2 separate regions of the Homo sapiens genome follow, and region 2 is linked to region 1. The links are contacts of gene promoters, found by promoter capture Hi-C in blood cells and fetal thymus (Javierre and others, 2016). All regions are on one chromosome and are shown on one strand. The core of a region is centred on a gene start or on the middle of the fragment in contact, and the rest is flanking DNA. Distances in the headings are between cores, read along the strand shown. Region 1 holds the start of CNN1 (calponin 1). Region 2 holds the start of ZNF625-ZNF20 (ZNF625-ZNF20 readthrough (NMD candidate)).

The links. Contacts are between HindIII fragments. The CHiCAGO score rates a contact against its expected background, and 5 or more counts as called.
Region 2: the fragment with the promoter of ZNF625-ZNF20 here is called in contact with the fragment with the promoter of CNN1 in region 1 in 2 of 17 cell types (neutrophils and total B cells); the score reaches 6.9 in neutrophils.

The regions. Positions count from the first base shown.
Region 1 is chr19:11,535,877-11,542,735 of GRCh38, reverse strand. It overlaps CNN1 (calponin 1), which reads right to left and starts at 3,885. Exons shown (of 7, transcript NM_001299.6): 1 at 3,746-3,885; 2 at 1,539-1,660. The coding sequence starts at 3,808. RefSeq lists enhancers at 1,076-1,195, 3,969-4,914 and silencers at 2,860-2,909, 6,338-6,707, 6,718-6,787. The HindIII fragment of the contact is 23,519 bases long and covers 1-6,859 here.
Region 2 is chr19:12,153,924-12,160,782 of GRCh38, reverse strand. It overlaps ZNF625-ZNF20 (ZNF625-ZNF20 readthrough (NMD candidate)), which reads left to right and starts at 4,052. Exons shown (of 8, transcript NR_037802.1): 1 at 4,052-4,227. ZNF625 (zinc finger protein 625) reads left to right here and starts at 4,049. Exons shown (of 4, transcript NM_145233.4): 1 at 4,049-4,227. The coding sequence starts at 4,225. RefSeq lists enhancers at 4,023-4,132, 3,695-4,386 and a silencer at 4,363-4,532. The HindIII fragment of the contact is 6,672 bases long and covers 2,258-6,859 here.

The sequences.
Region 1 (6,859 bases), core at 2,636-5,135:
GGCGTGGTGGCGGGCACCTGTAATCCCAGCTACTCAGGAGGCTGAGGCAGGAGAATTGCTTGAACCTGGGAGGCAGAGCTTGCAGTGAGCCAAGATCATGCCACTGCACTCCAGCCTGGGTCACAAAGCAAGATTCCATCTGAAAAAAAAAAAAAAGATTGCAGTGGAACTGGGGCTTGGGAGCTGTTAGGGTTTTCACCTCCCTCAGCAATGAGGTTTTGAGGCGAGGAGAAAACCAGGGCCGGCAGGGTGCAGTGGTTCATGCCTGTAATGCCAGCACTTTGTGAGACTAAGGCGGGTGGATCACTTGAGGTCAGGAGTTCGAGACCAGCCAGGCCAACATGGCAAAATCCCGTCTCTACTAAAAATACAAAAGTTATCCGGGCAAGGTGGTGGGCACCTGTAATCCCAGCTGCTCAGGAGGCTGAGACACAAGAATCACTTGAACCCGGAAAGCAGAGGTTGCAGTGAGCTGAGATCATGTCACTGCACTCCAGCCCGGGTGACAGAGGAAGACTCCATCTCAAAAAAAAGAAGAAGAAGAAGAAGGTCGGGCGAGGTGGCTCATGCCTGTAATCCCAGCAATTTGGGAGGCCGAGGCAGGTGGATCACTTGAGGTCAGGAGTTTGAGACCAGCCCGGTCAACATGGTGAAACACTGTCTCTACTAAAAAAAAAAAAAAAAAATACAAAAATTAGCCAGGCGTGGTGGCATGTGCCTGCAATCCCAGCACTTTGGGAGGCCAAGGCAGGTGGATCACTTGAAGTCAGGAGTTCAAGACCAGCCTAGTCAACATGGTGAAACTCCATCTCTACTGAAAAAAAAAAAAAAAAAACAAAAATTAACCGGGCATGGTGGCACGTGCCTGTAATCCCAGCACTTTGGGAGGCTGAGGTAGGTGGATCAATTGAGGTCAGGAGTTCGTAACCATCCTGGCCAACATGGTGAAACCCCATCTCTACTTTAAAAAAATACAAAAATTAGCCAGGCATGGTGGTGCGTGCCTGTAATCCCAGCTATTGGGGAGGCTGAGGCAGGAGAATCACTTAAACCCTGGAGGCGGAGGTTGCAGTGAGCCGAGATTGTGTCTCTGCACTGCAGCCTGGGCAACAGAACAAGACTGTATCTCAAAAAAACAAAAAGAAAACAGAAAGAAAACCAGGGCCTCCTTTAATTATTGCTGCACATCTCTCCTCACATCACCAAGCCAGCCATGAACAGCTGTTGGCTGCTGCCTTTTAGCTGTGACCGCTCTTTCTGGGGACTCTGGCGGCCACAGATGGGCCTACCCTATATAGCATGGTGGTTAAGATTCTAGAGTCATTTCCCTTGAAACCACGTGGGACTTGGTGCAATGCATTTCACCTGAGCCTCAGTTTTCTGTGCCTGTTAAATGGGCACAATGATTACTGGCCACCCCAAAGGTATCCAATAGAAAGTGTTCAACTCAGTTCCAGGATCATGGTTGTTTTGGGGGTTGAGGGGCTGCATGGAGTTGGGGGATGTTGCAGGGTCTCGGCTTCGAGAGCCTCACTCACTCGCAAAGAATGATGCCATCTTTGAGGCCGTCCATGAAGTTGTTGCCGATGCGACGGCCTGTCACCCCCTCGATCCACTCTCTCAGCTCCTGCTCCCGCTGGTGGTCATACTTCTGGGCCAGCTGGGGCGAGGGGAGGGCAGGGGGCACAGAGAAAGGGGTGAGGATGCATTGGGGGCAGCCTGGGCTCCCTGGGTCCTGTCTGAACTTCCTAGAGCCTGATCTCCCTCGTCCTTCCCAACTAAGGCAATTTTGCCCCAGATCCATAGTTGGGGGATGGGGGCTGGGGCGGGCTGAGAGCCAGGGCTGAGGTGGCACCTGCCCAGGGGGCCATTCCGGGCATTCTGAGGTTTGGCACCAGGGAATGTAGATGAGGGGTGGGGTGTGGGGAGCTGGATCCTCTGAGCTAGAGGGGTGGCACCCGGCACCCTGGTTTTTCGCCCAGGCCAAACTTGGGGCTTCTCTTCCTCTAGCCCTGCCCCCTCTGTGCCCCCTGTTGGAAGAGAGGGCACCTCAGGAAGGGAAGAAGGATGTCTAAGGAGGTGTCCCTGGGTGCTGGCTTGCAGAGGAGTGCTGGTCATACATCTCTGTCTCTCCGTGTCCCCCAGGTCTTCAGCTCCAGGGCTCTGTCTCTGGTTAGTGGTGGGGGCTTGTCTCTGTCTTAGCCCCCACCCCTTGCACGTCTGTATGTCTCTCTCCCTCTTATCCCCCCGACTCCTCTGTCTCTCTCTTCCCCAGCGCTGTCTTTTCTTGGCCCAGTCTTGGGTCCCCATCTCTCTAGGTGGCTAGTCCCTGTCTGGCCAGGGGTAGGGCTCCTGGGTCTTGTATATCTGCCTCTCTAGGTCTTTCTCTGTCTCCAGGTTTCCTGCCTGGGGTGGGGGTGGTGGGGCTCTGTCTCCTCTCCCTGCCCCTCCATCCTTGTCTAGGTCTTATCTCGCTCCTGGCTCGCCCTCCCCCGTCTGTCCCTAGGGTGTCTCAGGCTCCCAGTATCTCTGTCTGCCTCTCCCCCCACCTCCCTGCTTTTCCCTCTCTCCACTGTCCCCCCCCTCCCCCACTCCACTCCCATTTCTCCAGAACCCTCCGCCCAAGCCCAGCCAGGCTCCCAGCCCCTAGGGGACCGGGCTGCCTCTTCTTCTCCCGGGTGAGTGGGGGGAGGTGGGAGGGGCGGCCCCCTCACCTGGCCCTGGCCCTGCCGCCCCCCACGCCACCAGCCCGGCTTTATAAAGCAAACCGGCCCTTATATAGCGTGGCCCGGGCTCCCCGAGGCCGCCTTATAAGGCGCGGCGTCTCTGCGCGGCTCTGCGCGGCTCTGGGGCCGGCGCTGGGGGGGAGGAGGGCGGCGCTGGGATCTGTCTCTCGCCCGAGGACCCGCCCCCCACCAGCCCCCTCCTCCAGCCCCGAGATCCCTCGACCCAGGTTCCAACCCAGTCCCCCACTTCCTCACCATGGGACCCTGGGAAAAGCCACCCTGAGCCTCAGTGTTCCCCTCTGTCAAATGGGGCAGGAACTCCTCCCTCGGCAATACTGTTGGGGCGATTCCAGTGGGCTGGAAACTTAAAGTTCTCCAGCTGGGAGAAGCTGAGCCCATCCTGGTGTATGGGGGGTGAGTCCAGGGTCCGAGCGCTGTACCTGCTTTACCTGGGACCCCAGCTATTTGCCTCTCCTCTCCGAACCTCAGTTTACCCAACCATAGCATGAAGGTGGTGTCCAGGTATCTTCCTAGCTCCACAGTCAGGAGACCCCTGCCGCACTTCTGATGCCCGCTTCCTGCCTTTCACCGTCCCCCTCTGTCTTCAGGATCTCCCACACTTTCACGGCGTCACTTCCCAGGTACCCCAGCACTCAAGCGCTCCCCAATTTCTTTGTCAGGCCGGGGGATATGGAAAAATCAACAAGTCTTCCCCCTATGTTGTTCCCCCCAAGAACACGAAGGGTTAACAGAAGACTGATCAGGTGGGTATCTTTGCAATGGACTGACCCCCTCTGTTTATGTGTGGCTGTGTGCCCCCCCATTCCAGCCCCAACCATAGCTGGGGGCTCCGGGATGTTCAGGGGGAGACAGGCAGCCCCTATCCCATATCACTCCCTTTTCCCCTCTCAGTTTCCAAGTCACATAGGATAGGCAGGAGGGGGTTCAAGGGACCCCAAGCTCAGGGCTCTGGCCTGGCAGGACGTGTGGGCCAGGCCAGGGAGGCCCTCCAGCCCTACCTTGTTCTTAACCTCGGCTGACAGCCCGTAGGCAGGGCCTCGGTTGAAGTGAGCAGAGGACATGCTGGCCGGTGGGCTCTGGCGGGGGCAGTGGCGGCACTGACGCTGAGAACAGAGGCAGCGGCTGAAGTTCCGTCTGCACACTCTTCCCTCCTCACATGTTTTTGAAGCTCCGGAGGCGACCCGGGTCTCTTCCAGGGCCGTTCCATTGGCTGTAGGGGCCTGCCAAGGGGCGGGGCACCTCCCCCCACAACCTCAGCTGCCTTCCCCTCCCCTTGTGATGTCAGGCCCTTGGTATTGGGAGCTGATTGTGTCATTGTTTCCACCTAGGGGGGCAGCCTGCGTTATTCTGGGGGGGCTTGGTCAGACAGAGACCAGCCTTCTTCCACCCACCCCTCCCACTGTCCATTGGGCCTCTGGCTGGGTCTGAGTCTCTTTGTCTCTGAGGTCATCTCTCTTTATCTCTCTGGAGTCTTGAAGCAGGACTGACACCCAAGGTAGTTTAGTGAGCACCATCCCGGGTTTATCTCCAGATACCAACAGTCTATAGCCTTAGGTAAGCCCCTTCTCCTCTCTGGGCCTCTATGGCCACATCTGTAAAATGGGCTAACGATAGTGCCTGCCTCATGGGAGAGTTGTAAAGATCAGAAGAATATGCCTGTTACATGCCCAGCACAGTGCCCGGCACAGCAGAGGGACTCGGGCCATAGCAGTCTTTTTAAGGCAAGGTTTCACTCTGTCCCCTCGGCTGGAGTGCAGTGGCACAATCACAGCTCACTGCAGCCTTGACCTCCCAGGCTCAAGTGATCCTCCCATCTCAGCCCATCCAAGTAGTTAGAATTGCAGACTTGTGCCACCAACCTGGCTAATTTTATTTTATTTTTTTAGAGATGGGGTCTCGCTATGTTGCCCGGGGTCTCGCTATGTTGCCCAGGCTGGTCTCAAATTTCTGGGCTCAAGCAATCTGCCCGCCTTGGCCTCCCAAAACGCTGGGATTTACAGGCATGAGTCACCATGCCCAGCCTATAGCATTCTTTATGCTGAGGGTCCAGCACCCCAGTTCTGTCTCCTCCAGCCCCTCATAAGGACCTGGGGGAGAAGAGATCCTGGGTCTCACCCTCCCCATCCACTTGTGTGTCACCTGAACTACAGGGTGACTTTGTTGGCAAGTCCCAGGCCGTGAACTGTGTCCCTGTCAAACAGCCCTACCCAGCCAGATCTCACCCCTGGACCACAGGGGTGGATGCTATGCCCACATCATGCCCCACATGGCAAGGCCATGTTTGTGACACTTGGATGACATGTCTGCAACCTGCCACACACTAATGATATGTTGAGGATATGCAGTTTATCGGTCACATGCTAATGGCATGGCTGCAATATGCCACAGACTACAGCCCTTATGTCAGGCCATGTTCCAACTCTGTACATATATCCATTCAATTCTCATGACGCCCTCAGAGATGGACACTGTTATTATTATTATTATTATTATTATTATTATTATTTGGAGACAGAGTCTCTATTCCCCAGGCTGGAGTGCAGTGATGCTATCTCGGCTCACTGCAACCTCCACCTCCTGGGTTCAAGCGATTCTCCTGCCTCAGCCTCCCAAGTAGCTGGGATGACAGGTGTCTGCCACCACGACTGGCTATTTTTTGTATTTTTAGTAGAGACGGGGTTTTGCCATGTTAGCCAGGCTGGTCTCGAACTCCTGACCTCAGTTGATCTGCCCACCTCGGCCTTGCAAAGTGCTGGGATTACAGGCGTGAGCCACCGTGCCCAGCTGACACTGTTATTATTAATACAAGTACTTTGCTTTACAGGTGGGGAAACTGAGGCACGGGGGCTTGGAATCACTTTTTCAGCGTCACACAGCAGGCCAGGGGCAGAGGAGAATTTGAGACCATGCTCCATGAACCTCAACTATGAGGCTAAGGTGGGGTTTCTCAACCTCCACACTGTTGACAGCTGAGGCTGGATAATTCTTCATGGTTGGGGGGCTGCCTTGGGCATTCATTGTAAGACTTCAAGCAGCATGCCTGGCCTCTACCTGCTACATGCCAGTAGCACTCTCTTAGTCCTAATAAACAGAAATGTTGAGGCACTGCGGCAGGACCCTGTAGTCCCAGCTACTAAGGAGGCTGAGGTGGGAGGATCCCTTGAGCCCAGGAGTTTGAGAACCATCTGGCCAAGATAGCAAGACCATGGTCTCTAAAAAAGAAAAATTAAAAGAAGAAATGTCTACACACATTGCCAATGTCCCATGATTGGGGTCGGGGTGGAAGCAGATCACCCCTGTTTGCCAACCACTGAGCTAAGGCAATGTGCTAGTTGATGGCATGTCATGATATGTTGAACATACACGAAAATACATAAAATACGAGGCCAAGGCGGGAGGATCGCTTGAGCCCTGGAGTTCGAGACCCGAGACCAGCTTAGGCAACATAGCGAGACCCCGTCTCTATTTAAAAAAAAAAAAAAGAAAAAATAGAAAGTACATAAAATGAGCTAACAATTAGCACCTGCTACGTACTAAGAGCTTTGAGCCTGTTAACTCATTCCTCACGACAGCCTTATGAGGTGGGTCTATACGAGGCACAGAGAGGTGACGCCGAATGGCCGGGTCACACAGCTCGAGGGTGGCAGGGGCGGGATTCGAACGCGCAGATTCCTGGATCCCTCCCAAACTGAGCGGCCCTCGGGGGCCGCAGTTCGCTACTGCGCATGTGAGGACCTGCAGCCGGCGCCCCCTGGCGGCCCGGGAGGGGCGGGGGCGGGACCTGGCGAGGTCCAGGCGGCGGTGACGTCACGCGATGACTCACTCGGCCCCGCCCCCCGGCCCGCGGCCTCTTGGCCATTTATAGAATCTGCACGGACTCTGAAGTCACGGCCCAGGCACGACGGGGGCGGGGTGGGGGAGCTCTTGGCGTGCCCCCCAACGGGGCAGCCCCGGGTACCCCCAGGGGGCAGCCCTTTCGGGGACTGCCTTGTCCCTCTGATTGTAGTAGGTCTGTGTCTCTGTATCTCCGTCTCTGGGTCGCTGAGCCTTTTTCTGTCTCTGCCTTTGTCTCTGTGTCTCTGTTTCTGTGCCTGGTCTTTGAGTCATTCTGT
Region 2 (6,859 bases), core at 2,803-5,302, 620 kb before region 1:
ACATGGAGAAACCTCGTCTCTAAAAGTACAAAATTAGCCAGGCGTGGTGGCGCGTGCCTGTAATCCCAGCTACTCAGGAGGCTGAGGCAGGAGAATCGCTTGAACCTGGGAGGCGGAAGTTGCCGTGAGCTGAGATCACACCATTGCACTCCAGCCTGGGCAACAAGAGCAACACGGTGAAACTCTGTCTCTACTAAAATACAAAAAATTAGCTGGGCGTGGCAGTGTGCGCCTGTAGTCCCAGCTACTCGGGAGGCTGAGACAGGAGAATTGCTTGAACCCCAGAGGCAGAGGTTGCAGTGAGTTGAGATCGCGCCACTGCACTCCAGCCTGGGCGACAGAGCGAGACTCCGTCTCCAAAAAAAAAAAAAAAAACTAATGAAATATGGACTCTCTTCTGCTTCAGCAGCTCCCTGACCTTCACAGTTGATGGTTGTCACCAGGTGCTCTGTGTCAGGAGATGTACATGTGCAGTTTAGCCATTGAAAATTCTCTCTTAAATCGGGCGCGGTGGCTGCGCTAGGGGGACTCCAGTCCACCGGTCCCGAAGTCGCCCCGGACAGGCCTGGGTCCCGTCACAGCAGGTTCCTGTCCAGCACCTTGCTCCACAGTCTCGGGACATCCCCCCAGCACTCACCATTTCCTGGCTTCTGAGGTGTCTATGGTTCTCCTTATGTCTTTCGTGTTCATTGCAAGTCACAGCTGGAAAGAAGCTGCAGCGAAGCCACCTCTGGTGCTTCTCAGAGCAGCATAGACCTGACACCCACTGTGGGCGGGTGAAAGGAACGCCTCGCAGTTTTATGGAGCTTCGCGGCCTCCTCCCAGAGCCGCGCCTGATTGGACAATTTGCACAGCCACACCCCCCCGCCCCTCCTGATTGGACAGTGCCACGGGCCCCGCCTTCTGGGAGGCGGAGTGAGAGGAGAATTTAACACCTGGCTGAGTGGAGCTTGAATGAAAGGTTCTAGGCCCGACATGTGGCTCACACCTATACAATCCCAGGACTCGGGGAGGGCTGGAAAGGAGAACTGCTTGAGGCCAGGAGTTCAAGACCAGCTTGAGCAACGTAGTGAGACCTCATCTCTAAAAAAAAAAGAAAAAAAAAAAAAATTAGCCCAGCCTGGTGGCCCTGCAACTATAGTCCCAGCTACTTAGCAGGCTGAGTAAAGAGGATTGCTTGAACCTTGAAGGTAGAGGCTGCAGTTAGCTATGATCAGCGCACTGCACTCCAGCCTAGGTGACAGAGTAACACCCTGTCTCGAAAAAAAAAAAAAAGAAAAGAAAAGAAAAGAAAAATATAGATTCTAGCCACAGCCGGATTTCCTCCTTGCACTGCAGCCTGGCCCCCACCCTGGGGATACTGGTATTTCAGAATATGTTTCAGGCTTTCCAGAGCTGACACTGTTGTCTTCCTGTACTCAGTGGGCCCTTCTTTCAGGGGAGGTGGGGGTGGGGGGAGGGGGTTTGAGGTGGGGAGGTTGTCTGCCTTGAGGTCTAGTCAGGCCAACACTGGAAGAGGAGAGAGGCCTGATGTCGTCAGAGATTATAAATTTGGGATGAGGGATAGCCAAAGATTTTTCATACTTTATCTCTCAGTCTACTCATTTTCACTCAAGAAAACAACAAGCCAACAACAGAATAAAACTAAGTGCATGGAAAAGCTGGAATTATATGGCAGCTATATATATACACATATATATACATATATGTGTATATATATACTTATATATGTGTTTGTATATATACACATATATGTGTATATATACAAACACATATATAAGTGTGTGTGTGTATATATATATATATATATATATATATATATATATATATATGTTTTTTTTTTTTTGAAACGGAGTCTCGCTCTGTCGCCCAGCTGGAGTTCAGTGGCACAATCTCAGTTCACTGCAACCTCCATCTCCCGGGTTCAAGCGATTCTCCTGCCTCGGCCTCCTGAGTAGCTGGGATTACAGGCGTGTGCCACCACGCCCGGCTAATTTTTGTATTTTTAGTAGAGACGGGGTTTCACCATGTTGGTCAGGCTGGTCTCGAACTCCTGACTTCGTGATCCGCCCGCCTCGGCCTCCCAAAGTGCTGGGATTACAGGCGTGAGCCACCGCGCCCAGCCGGCAGCAATATTTTATAAAGGAATCAAAAGAAAAGTAAAGCAAACATTTGAAGTAGTTCAGATAAGCAGCCTGCTTCATGCACAGTTCACAAGGAAAACCCTCTGTCAGAAGGTAAATGATATTTCCAAGCTTGGAAGCCAAACTGTGACTGCTGAAATGGAGCCCCCCAGGGCGGGTCAGTCCCAGATGATGAGGCAGAGAAAATTAAGGATTTATCTGGGAGTTTGAAATGCCCTTCTGTCCCCTCCTCAGTTTAGAAATTATTCTCTCCTTTAAGACCTTCATTTTCACCAACAGGAAGCTCTCGACTTGAGTCAGTTTAAGCTAAATTTACTGTTAAATTCATAAACCCGCAGGGCGCGGTGGCTCACGCCTGTAATCCCAGCACTTTGGGAAGCCGAGGCGGACGGATCACGAGGTCAGGAGATCGAGACAATCCTGGCTAACACGGTGAAACCCCGTCTCTACTAAAAATACAAAAAATTAGCCGGGCGTGGTGGCAGGCGCCTGTAGTCCCAGCTACTTGGGAGGTTGAGGCAGGAGAATGGCATGAACCCGGGCGGGAGGCGGAGCTTGCAGTGAGCCGAGATTGCGCCACTGCACTCCAGCCCGGACGACAGAGCGAGACTCCGTCTCAAAAAAAATGATAATAAATACAATAAAATAAAATAATAAATAAAAATTCATAAACCCTTTCTCCAGGAGGCATCCCAAATGGGTCTTGCTCTAATTCTGACCTTCACAGATTTTCTTTTTCTTTTTCTTTCTTTTTTTTTTTTGAGACAGTCTAGCCCTGTCGCCCAGGCTGGAGTGCAGTGGCGCAATCTCGGCTCACTGCAAGCTCCGCCTCCCGGGTTCACGCCATTCTCCTGCCTCAGCCTCCCGAGTAGCTGGGACTATAGGCGCCCGCCACCGCACCCGACTAATTTTTTGTATTTTTAGTAGAGACGGGGCTTCTCCGTGTTAGCCAGGATGGTCTTGATTTCCTGACCTCGTGATCCGCCCGCGTCGGCCTCCCAAAGTGCTGGGATTATAGGCGTGAGCCACCGCTCCCGGCCGTAAAGATTTTTAAATAATAAAAACAGGGGTCTAGGGTGGGGGGATGTGGGAGGGATAACATTAGGAGATATACCTAATGTAAATGACGAGTTAATGGGTACAGCACACCAACATGGCGCATGTATACATATGTAACAAACCTGCACATTGTGCGCATGTACCCTAGAACTTAAAGTTTAATAAATAAAAATTAAAAAAAAAAAACAACAAAACAGGGGTATTCTTGTGTTGACCAAGTTGGTCTTTAACTCTTTACTTTAAGGGATCCTCCAGTCTTGGCCTCCCAAAGTGCTAGGATTACAGGCGTGAACCACCGCACCCTGCCTGTGTTCAGGTCACAATCTCTTCTAGCTTGGATAAAGGGAAAGAAATAAAGGGGGAGAGGGCATGGTTTCATCAATGGAGATTCTCTGCAGATGCAAATTCCCCCCCTCCAAAGACAGCTTTGCCAGTCCACTTTTTTTTGCGGCCGAGCCACAGCCATTTCAAAATCTGTCAAATAAATATATTTTGGCGTAAAATATTTTAATTTCCTTCACCTCCACTGGACTCTGAGTCTGGAATTTCCTGTGCAAGACAAAGGAGCAGGGACAGCCCATTGAGTGAGGAAGACAACGGTACCCCCTCTAGCAATTCGGAGCAAATTTGGCTGAAATGCAAATACCCAAAGAGCAAGACGCAGGGAGGGAGCTCGCTTAGATAATCTGTGGTTGGAACAGGTCATTTCGGTTCTGCCGGGCCTTGTTACCCAGGGCTTCCGCTGTCACTCAGGACCGATGGGACGGGGACTGGAGCCTCATCCAATCAGGGGCGCTGGGGCGGGGTCCTGCCAACTGTCCATCCGGGGAAGGGGAGGCCGCATTCCCGCTTTCCTGACTCCCAGGCGTCTTGCACCAAAGGGAGGTCGGGATCTCGGTTTTCCGGCCCCGAGAGGGACCAGGTGCCTCCGCCATAGCTTCTGTCGCTCCATCGCCCGCACTGTGACTGGACTGTTAGAGGGATCCGTGGAGAGGAGGCCAGGACACCTGGAAGCCGGGAAATGGTGAGTGTGCGGGGCCGGGGGTCCCGAGACGGGGGAGGGGCCGGGAGGAACCGGCTCGAACCGGCTCTAGCAGGACCCAGGCCTTCCTGCAGCGACTTCGGGTCTGCAGAGCGGAGTCCCCCTGGCGTAGCTCGGCCCTCGGTCCCTTCGGCCGCAGGGTGGGGTTGGGCCGGCAGCCGGGACCCCAGGCGTCCTGTCCCGTCTCTGCGCTGCGACTGCGACCCCGGCCCTGGCCCCGGCCCCGGAGCCCTCTCTGGGGAGCTCCGCGCCCGTAGTCCCGCGTCTCCCCAGATTGTGCGGAGACCACGGGAGGGTCATGGAGGCAATCCTGCCTCGGGTGTGTGGTTCGTGTGGGAGGAGCGGTGGGCTGCGGGGTCCCCAGTCCCCCCTTTTTTCCTGAAAAACTAAATTGAAGGCCAGGCGCAGTGGGTCACGCCTGGCAGGTTGAGGCGGGGGGATTGCTTCAGCCCAGAAATTCGAGACCAGCCTAGGCAACATACCGAGACCCTAGTTTCTATTAAAAATAAATTTTTAAAAAATGAGCCGGGCGTGGTGCCGCCCACCTGTAATCCCAGCTACTGGGGGGCTGAGGTGGGAGGATCGCTTGAGGGAGGAGATTGGGACTGCAGTGAGCCGAGATCGCGCCACTGCACTCCAGCCTGGGCGACTGAGCGAGACCCTGTCTCAAACAAAACAAAACAAAAACAACAGCAACAAACTAAACTGAGTCCTCTTAAAAATTAAAGAGTTTTGCTTCTCAGAATAGGAGTTTGAAAAAAATGAATGAGAAATGTTTCCTGAATGAGAAACACCCAGTCATGGCTTGCAGTTTGATAACGGAAAGAGCAAAACTCTGCAAAATAACTTGAACTATGTTCTACGCCGAATATGAGAGAACGTGACCAAGGGAAACAACCGCATGTAGCCTCGAGTAAGTGGTCCCCAGGAGGTTCGATGGCAGTTTGGTTTTATTCATTTCAGCGAGACAGGAATTGCAGGGAAAAGATCAATCAAGGCATGGAAGGCTGACAGGGCAGGACACGTAGAAGCGGGGCTTAGAAGGCACAGGTGGTTGAGGGATTCTGTAGTTGGCAGTTGGCTGAGAGTGTGAAGTTGTGTCTAAAATTTGAAAGGGGTAGGAAGGAATGTTTAAGTGAAGGGAGTCTGTTACCTGCCACGTGATTCCATCCCCACCAAAAAACAGATATGTTTCACTAGATTTTATGAATTCTAAGGCGTGACTTTACCCTTGCCTTGCATGGCCTTAGGTCTTGTTTGCAATTTAGTATTTATTGGTACAAAGGGTTTCTTTGCAGGTTTTTTTTTTTTTTTGAGATGGAGCCTCACTCTCGCCCAGGCTGGAGTGCAGTGGCGCAATCTCGGCTTACGGCAACCTCCGCCTCCTAGGTTCAAGCAATTCTCCTGCCTCAGCCTCCCAAGTAGCTGGAATTACAGGTGCACGCCACCATACCCGGCTAATTTCTGTATTTTTAGTAGAGATGGGGTTTCACCATGTTGGCCAAGCTGGTCTCAAACTCCTGACCTCAAATAATCCGCCTGCCTCCGCCTCCCTCCGCCTCCCAAAGTGCTAGGATTACAGGACTGAGCCACTGTGCCCGGCCTCTTTGCAGGTCTTATGTCTATTTTAATATGAATGTGGGTCAGTTGCTGTGTCTAAACTCCAGAAGGGAGTATGGAGTGTCTGATCTCCCTTACTAATGTAACTGGGAACTTTCAGGTTTTTGGGGGGCCTCCCCTTGGTAAAGAGCCACTCAGTTGACTTGATTGGGGTGGGATGGGGAGCTTAGGTTTTTATTTTTAGTTTACAGGTTGAAGGATAGGCTTTTATATGGTGCATTAGAATAAAAATCAAAAAATACTTTATTGGTTACAGTGATGTAGTCGCCTTGTTTGGATTTTTCTACCTTAAATGATTGAAATGATCAGATTCCTATTATAAGGAGATTATTTAAGTGAAAATCTGAGAATTGCCATTCAAGAAAATACAGACTCTAGGGAAATGGGCTTAGAACTCCGGAGCTAAAAGTTAAACTCTTGACCTAGTGCAGTGTCCCACACCTGTAATCCCAGCTTTGTGAGGCTGAGGCAGGATGATTGCTTGAGACCAGGAGTTGGAGACCAGCCTTGGTAATACAAGACCCATGTCTAGAAAAGAAAAATAGAAAAATTAGACAGGTGTGGTTGCACCCACCTGTAGTTCCTGATACAAGGGACACTGAGGCAGGAGGATCACTGGACCCCAGGAGTTTGATGCTGCAGTGAGCCATTATCAAATTTGACATTCCAGCTTAAGACACTGTGATGGCCATGAAGTCTTTGTGTGAGAAAGGTAAGAGGAAAGTTAATCTATAATGAAGATCAAGAGAAAAGAGGCCCTTCCTGGCTCTGTTCAGGCATTTTCAATATTTTACAAAAGAATATAGGTAAGGGCTGGGCGGGGTGGCTCACGCCTATAATCCCAGCACTTTGGGAGGCTGAGGCGGGTGGATCACAAGGTCAGGAGATTGAGACCATCCTGGCTAACATGGTAAAACCCCGTCTCTACTAAAAATACAAAAAATTAGCCGGACATGGCGGCAGGTGCCTGTAGTCCCAGCTACTCGGGAGGCTG